Regions from separate parts of the Homo sapiens genome. Here all the other regions are linked to region 2. The links are contacts of gene promoters, found by promoter capture Hi-C in blood cells and fetal thymus (Javierre and others, 2016). All regions are on one chromosome and are shown on one strand. Each heading gives the region's core, a stretch centred on a gene start or on the middle of the fragment in contact. The rest is flanking DNA. Distances are from core to core; before and after follow the strand shown. Region 1 has its middle 11 kb from the start of RHOH. Region 2 holds the start of RBM47 (RNA binding motif protein 47). Region 3 overlaps N4BP2 (NEDD4 binding protein 2).

Evidence for each region. The method cuts DNA at HindIII sites, captures the fragments that hold promoters and counts their contacts. A CHiCAGO score of 5 or more calls a contact.
Region 1: a fragment that was not itself captured here is called in contact with the fragment with the promoter of RBM47 in region 2 in 1 of 17 cell types (monocytes); the score reaches 5.3 in monocytes.
Region 3: a contact is called between a fragment that was not itself captured here and the fragment with the promoter of RBM47 in region 2, in 1 of 17 cell types (M1 macrophages). The highest score is 5.6, in M1 macrophages.

The regions. Positions count from the first base shown.
Region 1 is chr4:40,184,887-40,187,711 of GRCh38, forward strand. It overlaps a transcript of N4BP2 not described here. Among named protein-coding and RNA genes, the nearest start is that of RHOH, 11 kb to the right of the region's middle. RefSeq lists an enhancer at 930-999. The HindIII fragment of the contact is 1,586 bases long and covers 676-2,261 here.
Region 2 is chr4:40,628,444-40,631,578 of GRCh38, forward strand. It overlaps RBM47 (RNA binding motif protein 47), which reads right to left and starts at 1,421. Exons shown (of 7, transcript NM_001098634.2): 1 at 953-1,421. RefSeq lists enhancers at 278-1,154, 1,155-2,032, 1,215-1,284. The HindIII fragment of the contact is 8,976 bases long and covers 1-3,135 here.
Region 3 is chr4:40,152,267-40,155,299 of GRCh38, forward strand. N4BP2 (NEDD4 binding protein 2) reads left to right here. Exons shown (of 18, transcript NM_018177.6): 17 at 514-637; 18 at 1,926-3,033. The coding sequence ends at 1,971. Among named protein-coding and RNA genes, the nearest start is that of RHOH, 43 kb to the right of the region's middle. The HindIII fragment of the contact is 3,367 bases long and covers 72-3,033 here.

The DNA of each region.
Region 1 (2,825 bases), core at 219-2,718, 440 kb before region 2:
CGGAGGTTGCAGTGAGCCGACATTGCGCCACTGCACTCCAGCCTGGGCAACAGAGCAAGACTCTGTCTCAAAAAATAAATAAATAAATAAATAAATAAAATAAAAAATAAATTGGGATTTTACTGTACAGATAGTTTAATTTTATAGCTTACTCTTTGTAATAATAAATCCATGTCCCTTTAAAAATAACAGTTTTTCTCTATTTTTTTCAGGTCTCCCTTCCATTCGACGTGTGCCTCTTGTTGTCCTGTAATGAATTAATTTGAAAAGTAATTTGTCTTCTGTAAGGGGAAATGCTGTAGAAGTAAATTGATTCAGGGAGTCCCCTTACTCATTGGCTGTGTGGCCTTATGTAAGTTGCTTAACCTTTCTGAACTTCACTTTTCTCATTTACAAAGTGAAGATGTTGCTAATAATAGCAATAGTGGTTTTTGCTGTTTTATGGTTTTCTTGTGATAAATGATAATATAAAAGGCTATTGTAAATTGAATTTGAAAGAAAAAAATTTAAAGTTAAAAGAAAACTTAGTAATGTGAATACCCTTTCAAAGTATTTTTAGAAATCTCATTATTGTATATTTAGAAGATTAAAAGACAAGAATTAGAGAACAAAAACAATTTTATTTTCTATTTTGAATAATAAATACTATAGAGATAGGTTTGCTCAAAATTGTAAAGCTTGTTTTGTTTTTGGTAAACATTTGAGAACTTAAACTTATTATTTGGAAAAAAACATTTTAATAGAAATTTTACTTTTTAAAAGGTTTATGTGGTTTTTAAAAAAAGCAAAAAACATTTGTTTATGACTAATCTTGAAATTTTATATGTAATTTAAAATGCCATGTAAGCAGGAAGGTACTCATTTAGGAGAAATTACAAAACTACTTCCTTTTCTTTTAAATGATTAAAAAAATGCACAGCTACAATAATTTAGGTAATAATAATAATAATGAGAACGCAGCAGGCTTAGTTTGAAACCAGACCTTGCAATCCTTGACTGCACTTGTCACAAACATGTTTTCCTCTAATGATCCTCAAGCATTTCCCACTACCTCTTTCTTTTTGAGCACAGACACTGAATTAATTACCCAGAAACCTCACTTTTTTATTTTTGAGTACTCCTTTATCTTCCCATGAGAAGAGAAAGCTACTGAGATTGCCCAGGATGTGTTTCCCAGGTATAATTTCCATTTTAAGGGAAAGTTAAGACAGGCCTTTTAAGAGGTTTGATGCAAAAGCCTCTGGAATCCCTTGTTTTTGGAGTCTGTCTGGAAGTTTGAATTGGCATTGGGTTGGAATCCTCTAAATATGATCCTATGTAAGCTGAGTAATGAGGAAGATGACTTTGCTATGCTTAGCTGTGGTTCAGTGATTCTCCCCTGAGAATCAACTGCTATAAAAATCACTGGTTATTATGTAAAACATTGTGACCGAAGCAGTGACAAGGGTTTATAGAGAAAACTTAGGTAGACTTGCTCAATGAAATTAAGAAAAATAAAAAAGGAACAACAACTTTTCATCTGGTTCATCTAAATGATAGATGCTCATTACAGAACATTTGGGAAATATGTGGCTGGGCAGCATGGCTCATGCCTGAAATACTCACTTGCCCACTGCTCACCTCCTGCTGTGCGGCCCAGTTCCTAACAGGCCACGGGTGGGTACTGGTCTGCAGCCCCAGGACTGGGGACCCCTGACCTAGAGGTTGCCTCTATAAACATTGGCATGTGTGTATACAACAAGTTGAATCCAAATTCGTTTTGTAACCTGCTTTTTTCACTTAACAGTATATTGTGAGCATGTTCCCATGTCATTAAAGATTTTTTGATTTGCAGTGAGCTGATATTGTCTGCTTCCTAGGACTGAGCCACCAGGATCAAAGAAAGGAAATCATTGCCTTCAAGAAGAACATGGTTGACTCGTGCCCATACTTGTCTCTCTTTCATTGAGCCCATGACTATTTTTCCTGATAAGTCATGCCAACTGGTATCAAGTCTCATCTGGATGACATATTTTGTTGTTGTCACTGTTGTTTTTTATCTATGGGCCCAATTGCAATTTATAAATAAGTACTCATTTTCACACAGATATTTTAAGCTGGTTCTTTTCATGATAATTGCATCAGTAATAAAGTGAATGAAATTCACAATTTTACTTCACTGACTCAACATTTATCATTTATCTTAAGCAGGGAATACTACCAAGACAAGAAATTAATTGGTGAGGAAGAAGGGATATGCTAATCTGAATCTGGCCTCCCAAAGCTTTAGCCAGATTATTCCTGATTTGCCAATAGGTCAACTATAAAATTTCTCTTGAAGTAAGGAAAACTTAAGGAGTGTGCTGTGTTCTGGTAAGCTGATTTTCTTGACCATTTTTAATACTGTAAATGGAATCTTTAAAAACAAACAAACAAAGCCTACATTCATCCAAAGCCAAAAATCTGTACACATTCTGGACATTTGTGCAAAAAAAAATTTAAATGGCTACATGTAATTAAAACGACACTGGTCATTTACTTTCCAACTCAGGACATACCCTGACTTCCTTGTGTTGGTTATATGTCACTATATGACACAGTTATTTATTTATTTTTAAAATTGTTCTATTTTTTTGTAGAGATGGGGTCTTGCTATGTTGCCCAGGCTGGTCTCAAACTCCTGGGCTCAAGTGATCCTCCCACCTTGGCCTCCCAAAGCACTAGGATTACAAGCGTGAGCCACTGTGCCCAGCCTAAGATGCATTTTATTCACTTAAGAGAGCTAACCTGTTCAGATTATGAATTGACAAGTCATATCAATTCTAGTTTTGAGTGACTTTCAGAAG
Region 2 (3,135 bases), core at 171-2,670:
CCTTTTAGAATCGGCACCTGCAATTCTCAAATGCTCTGGATCTAATTGCCAACCTTTTGAGCTCAAAACTTCGGCAACTCCTTCATGTTGGGTTGTCAACCCTTTGCTTTCCCTCCCCTGAGAAATTCGTATGACCTTGCCTTAAAACTTTTAAAGAATACATTTTAAAATCTATATTCCTGCTAAAGAAAACAGTGAGTCATTAAAATACCACCAGATAAAAAAAAAAGGTTTGATTTTTAGTTCAGGTCGGTAATGGCCTGTAAGTACCTTGAAGATGGTATCTTCCTATCACTTATGCCTTGGGACAGTACCCAAGAGTGGCTGAACTTTTACCTAATTAAAAAATGAGTCATTTATTTGAAAAATTCCACTTCCATTTATTTTATCTGATTTCTTAAATATCCGGTCAACTGCTAATTTGTCAGATGTCATAATTCGTCAGTCCTACCCTTTTCTACAGGCTGAATTTTTAATTTGAAACAACTACACCTCTACCGAGTGTTACTTTCAGACGTAAATTACTGCAGGAAGACCCCCCTCTGCCTTGGTTAACACTTAAATGAGATGCCTCCTGTCCAGGACGCTTCCTCAGTCTCACTGTAATAATCTGAGTCTAAAGTCACCTGTGCTTCTGGGCGGTCCAATCATGTATTTTCAAGAGTGAAAAAAAAAAATCAGTTTCTTTTATGGGAAAAGATTCATCACTACAGGAAACACGATGGGACTGACTGTATATGATTATCTGCCTTCCCAGAGGTTGACCCTTTTAAAACCGTTTTATAAACCCTTTATTTCCCACTAAATATACCAAGAGACAGAAGATGAGTGATAGCATGAGGGATAAGAGCTAAAGAGAGAAGAATAAGAAAAAAATATACACTTCAAAAATTGGGACCCAAATGTAAGATTAAGGGACAATAGTTAGAAGGACTACCAAAAACCACCTTACCTTTCCTTGTTAAGTTTTTGGAGCCGCCCACTTCAGAAATTAACACCATTCACAGCCCAGGAGCAACTTAACACAGCTAGGAAGTCACCTACAACATCTTCTCGTCCGCCTTCTTTTTAATGTAAAACCAAAATAAGGAGTGTCCAGCGACTCCCCACCGCGCCGCTTAAAGCAACAGAGCGTTTTAGGCTTAACTCCCAGGCTCTGGGAATTCCAGTGGGTCAGAATTGCTTAACCTTGGAGACTTGCAGAGAGAAAGTCTCCAGGAGGACCGCTCCCCAAACCCTGGTTTCTCTCTATCCCAAGCTGCACATTCCACAGTGGAAAGCGGGAGCGGCGACCCGAAGGCAGCGAAGTTCTCTCGGGCTCAGCTCCCGAGGCCGGGAGCGCGCGGCGGTTCCACCCGCAGAGCGGCGCCGCGTCCCGGCTGCGTGGGGCGCTGCGCACGGGAGCGCTCAGCGTCTAGTCTGCGGGCCCTTCCCGGTTCCCTCCCTCTCTCCTCCCGCCGCCCGCCCCCTGCCGAGGCCATCCGCCTCACAGTAGCAAGGTTGTCTCTCGTCTACTCCCTTCCCTTAAACTCACCAAACCAGATTTTTACTCCCAACACCGGCAACTTCCCGTAAATCTGCCCTGAAATTTTATCCTGCTGGCTGAGCCTCCCCTGGCTAAAGGCCAGTGCCACATTCCTGTTGTTTTTTAGGAGCGCAGATACCTTTGCTGAAGGTTCAAAGAAAATCGGCCTTGATGGCAGAGATTGGGGGACTTGACCAGACGGACTTCTCTCCCCGCCCCAAAAGTCACATGCCTTTCAGACACCCAGAAGTGGCACCTGCTCCACCTGGGGGCATCTGTCCGAGTCAGACGCTCGGCCCCCTTCGGGCTGCTCCGAGAAACCCAGCCAGAACCACGTTGGAGAAATTAGGAACCTGCTGCTGAATTTCAAGCCGATCGGAACCGCCCCGCTCCCCTTCTTCCCCCCATAAACAAGTCGCTGGACGAGGTGGGATCTCTGCGACCCCCGCGTGCCCGGGGAGAGCTCCCGGGGCGAGCTCCCGGGGCGTCCTTACCTGGGGCCGAGCATGGCTTGGCCGCGCGCAGGCAGGAGCGTCACGCGGACGGGGCCCTGACCTTTGCCGGGGCCTTCGCAGCAGGGCCTGGGGCCTGGGCGCTGCTCGTTCAGAAGTGGCTCATTTTAGTGCGCTCTGACCTAGAGTTACGGAGGGTTTCTAGAAAGGGAACAAAAAAACACTGCATTTAGAAACAGCAGCCAAGCCCTCGCTTCACCTTGCCTGCTCTCTGGGGAGTTGGCTCGAACCCCCACCCCATCCCAATTCCCAAGAAACCCAGATGTCCGCAATCCGCGCCCCACCCCCTCCGCCTTACCTGTTTATACAAGAGTTAAGGAGCCTCCCGCATTTCAGTGGAGCGCTAAGCCTGTTTGTAGGCGCGGAATGGGCCAACAGGAATCGAATTCTGTGACTAAACAAACTAGAAGAGGAAGCAGGCACCACCAGGAACCTAAAACAGAGTTGTGATTTCGGGTTGCAGTGTCATTCAGCTGAGGGGAAAGAAAAAAATACCGGGCTACTTTAGTGAAAGAATGTTCCAAAAATGGTTCTTTGCTGGTTGAGTTAACACATGCAAAGAGCTTAGAACGGTGCCTAGCACACAGTGTTAGCTGCCGTTATTGTTGTTGTTATTCTTCTTATTATTATTTACATTATGGCTTTTTTCTGAAGAAGAGTGTGTGGTCAGAGTTAGACATGGGCTGTAGCACCAGCATTGCCACTCACCAGCTGTGAGGCCATGAGCAAGATATTTAATCTCTCCCAGCCTCAGTTTCTGGAAGATTCTAACGATGGGATTTTTACAAACAGTTTATATTCATTGCTGACAGTCTTGAATACAATGGGAAATAAAGTCCCTGTAAAGGGTAGCCAACTGAATTTCATCTCACTTAAAAGTTACAAGATTGACAACAGAAATGGAGATAAATTTGCCTGCATTCCATGAAGCTCACTAACGGGAAGGAAATTCAGGGCCCAGCAATCACCCATCTGCTATGCTTAATTCTCATTTGTATTTTGGCACTTGACCTGGTGTCTTACCCTGGGATAGTTACTTATCCCAGACTGGGCCGGACAAATAATGACCCTTGCCGTTTGAAAAGCAGTATGAAAGAG
Region 3 (3,033 bases), core at 505-3,004, 480 kb before region 2:
GCACAAAAGAAGCTAAGTAACTTGTCCATGGTCACACAGTCATTTAGTGGCAGAGCTATGATTCAGAACAAAGCTTGATGGCTTTAGAATATTTAATTAACAGGGTTGTTGTGAAGATTCTTAGTTAATAAATATAAGCCACTTAAAGCAGTACTTGACTCCTTTTGTATAGTAATTGTTAGGTATCATTAATGGTATTATTGCCATTATCATTATTTCAGGGAGAACTTCTGGTAGTGCACAGAAATCTCTTCCCCCATAAAGGAAGAAGTCCCACCAAATCTTTTGATGGATAGATTACAATGAGGCTATGTGTTTTAAAACATACATCTTAAAACATTAATTTGGGGGCTTTTTGAGATAGCAAATCTGTCTTACTATTACAGTTTTGAGATGGCAAACCCCAAAATCCTCATGAAAACAATTTCATGTGCTTGAGTAGCTAAGGTTTACGTTTTCTATTGAGAATGTAAGATAAATGAATTTTAACTCCCCTGATTTCTGTTGTAACAGAATTTAAGCAGAACGGTGGGAAGCCCTATTTGTCTGTGATTACGGGGAGAGGAAACCACAGCCAGGGAGGAGTTGCTCGCATCAAACCAGCTGTCATTAAGTACCTCATAAGCCATAGCTTCAGGTGAGTGTAGATTTCTGTTATTAATAATGGCAACTGCCCATATAGATCTTTATCAGATATTTCTGTGAGTATAGATTTCTGTTATTGATAATAGCAATAGCCCTAATATAGCTAGGTAAATAAACACTAATAGCGTACTCAGAACAATCTGTTAAAATAGTTAACTAAATTTAATCATCTGATTTCAGCCACAGATTCATGCTTAAATTATGATATAACTTTCCCTGCTGGATTTATGTTGTCTGGTAAACCAGAAATAAGGAAAAATGTGTTTGTTGCCAATAATCATCTGATAAAACTTTCTATCATAAATTTAAAGTTCTAAAAGAAAGTAAATATATTTGTTTCTTTGATAATATGCAAAATAATTAGGTAATATGTATCATACTTTAAGATTTGCTATTATTCTTTTGAAAGGAAATCAGTATTTGTGGATTTTGGATGGAATTGGGTGGCTTCTATTGAAATATAGTTATAATTTAGGTACGTTTAAACTTTAGCAGAAATGTTCAGTTAATATGAATTTATTTGTGTTTTCATAAGTTAAATGCCATTAATGACCTGTGTTGACAAACATGAAATGTTCTTTTTCATTAAGTGATAATTATTTAATAACAGAAAATGACAAGAAAGTCAAAGATGAAATATCTGTTGATGGATAGATTTCCTGCAGATGTGTATCATTAACTCCTACCCACCAATTTCAGTGTAGCATATTTATTTTATGCCATGTAATAAGATGTTATTTGGCTACATTATCGAAAATGATAGCATAAGTTATGAGCATAAAACAGGTGACATCAGGGTTATTTTTATAAAAGGAGTAGTTAGACCAGAACATTATGTTGAGATTAATTATCTATTTTAGAGACTAGTCTTCCTTTAAATTCTCTCCGGATAGAGTTGAAAGCATTGCATGGCCAGATTAATCAGACTTACCTGATATATCAGAGATTTCTTCTTGGTGCTTTCATGATGCACCAAGGACTTTATTCTTCCTACAGCATACTCTTTTTCATAAAGGTAAAATTCAGGCCTCACAGGTTTTGACAAATCTTAAGTTATACTAAGTCAAGAGCAACCTCCAGCTTTAAGATTGTATTTGTTTTGACCGTAGATAAAAGGAACACAAACCTAGATGTTGGTCTTGGATATTGACTTAATAAGGGTCAATACTTTGGTAGTAAATATTATATTAAGCGTAGGTACTTGGAATTGATTACAAGGTATATTCCTTAGCTAATTTGAAATTTTCATCTTTAAAATAACTCTTTTCTCATTTCTGCAGGTTCTCTGAAATTAAACCAGGGTGCTTGAAAGTCATGCTAAAGTAAAATAAACATCCTTGAATTAGAAGTATGAAGGTTTGTAGGTTAAAATTACTTTTATTTGCAGTAATTCAGTCAATTCTACCCTAAAGATGTGTTTTATTATAAATAATATTCAATTATGAAACAAAAAAATTATGATGTTTTTCAAAATGCAAGTGAGGTTTGATTTTTTACTGAATCAAATGCAAATGTTACCTGTTAAAGATATTACAGAGAAATTTTATTGATTACAAAATATGTAAGAAAATTATCAGCTACAGTTTTAAAGTTTAAAATGCTCTGATTGTTTCTCAGAAAAGGTTACCTTTGTATTAATTGTTGTATGACATTTAGTAATGTCCTAAAAGTCTTTTGTGAGAGGTATTTAAAGTGCTTTGAGACCTGATTCATGCCCCCCAAAGGGTGGTATTAAAAGAGGAAAAAGGACATAGTAGTGGTAGTAAAGAAAAAAAGGAGATCTAACAAAAACACTTGAATATTTTTTATTTTCAAAACTAAACACATAAAATGCTTTTATTTTGCCATATCCTACAGGAAGGAAGACATGCTTTTGCCCTTTCTTCTGCTTTGTATATGACCTTGATCTTTTACCTTTTGTTCTGTTCTTCTGTGTGCATTTTATGGAAAGAAAGTTGGGTCTGAGATTATATTGTAATTTTATACTTTCTATAGACAGAAAGGTTTTCAGAGAAAAAGAAATGGTTAAATATCTTCCAGATGTTGCTGCCTTATCGAAATGCTTCTAGAACTGTCTGTATAAGTCGTATTTCAGACAGTACTAAATACTTATATTTTATTTTTGAGGCATGTAATTTTAAAACTGCAGTAGGTTAAAATTCTATTAAACAAATATAGAAAATATTTTGTTTATAATTGGCCTGGTGTGGTGGCCCACGCCTGTAATCCCAGCACTTTGGGAGGCCGAGGTAGGTGGATCGCCTGAGGTCAGAAGTTCAAGACCAGCCTGGCCAACATGGTGAATCCCCGTCTCTATTAAAAATACAAAAATTAGCTGGGTGTGGTGGCGTGTGCCTGTAATCCCAGCTACTTGGGAGGCTGAGGCAG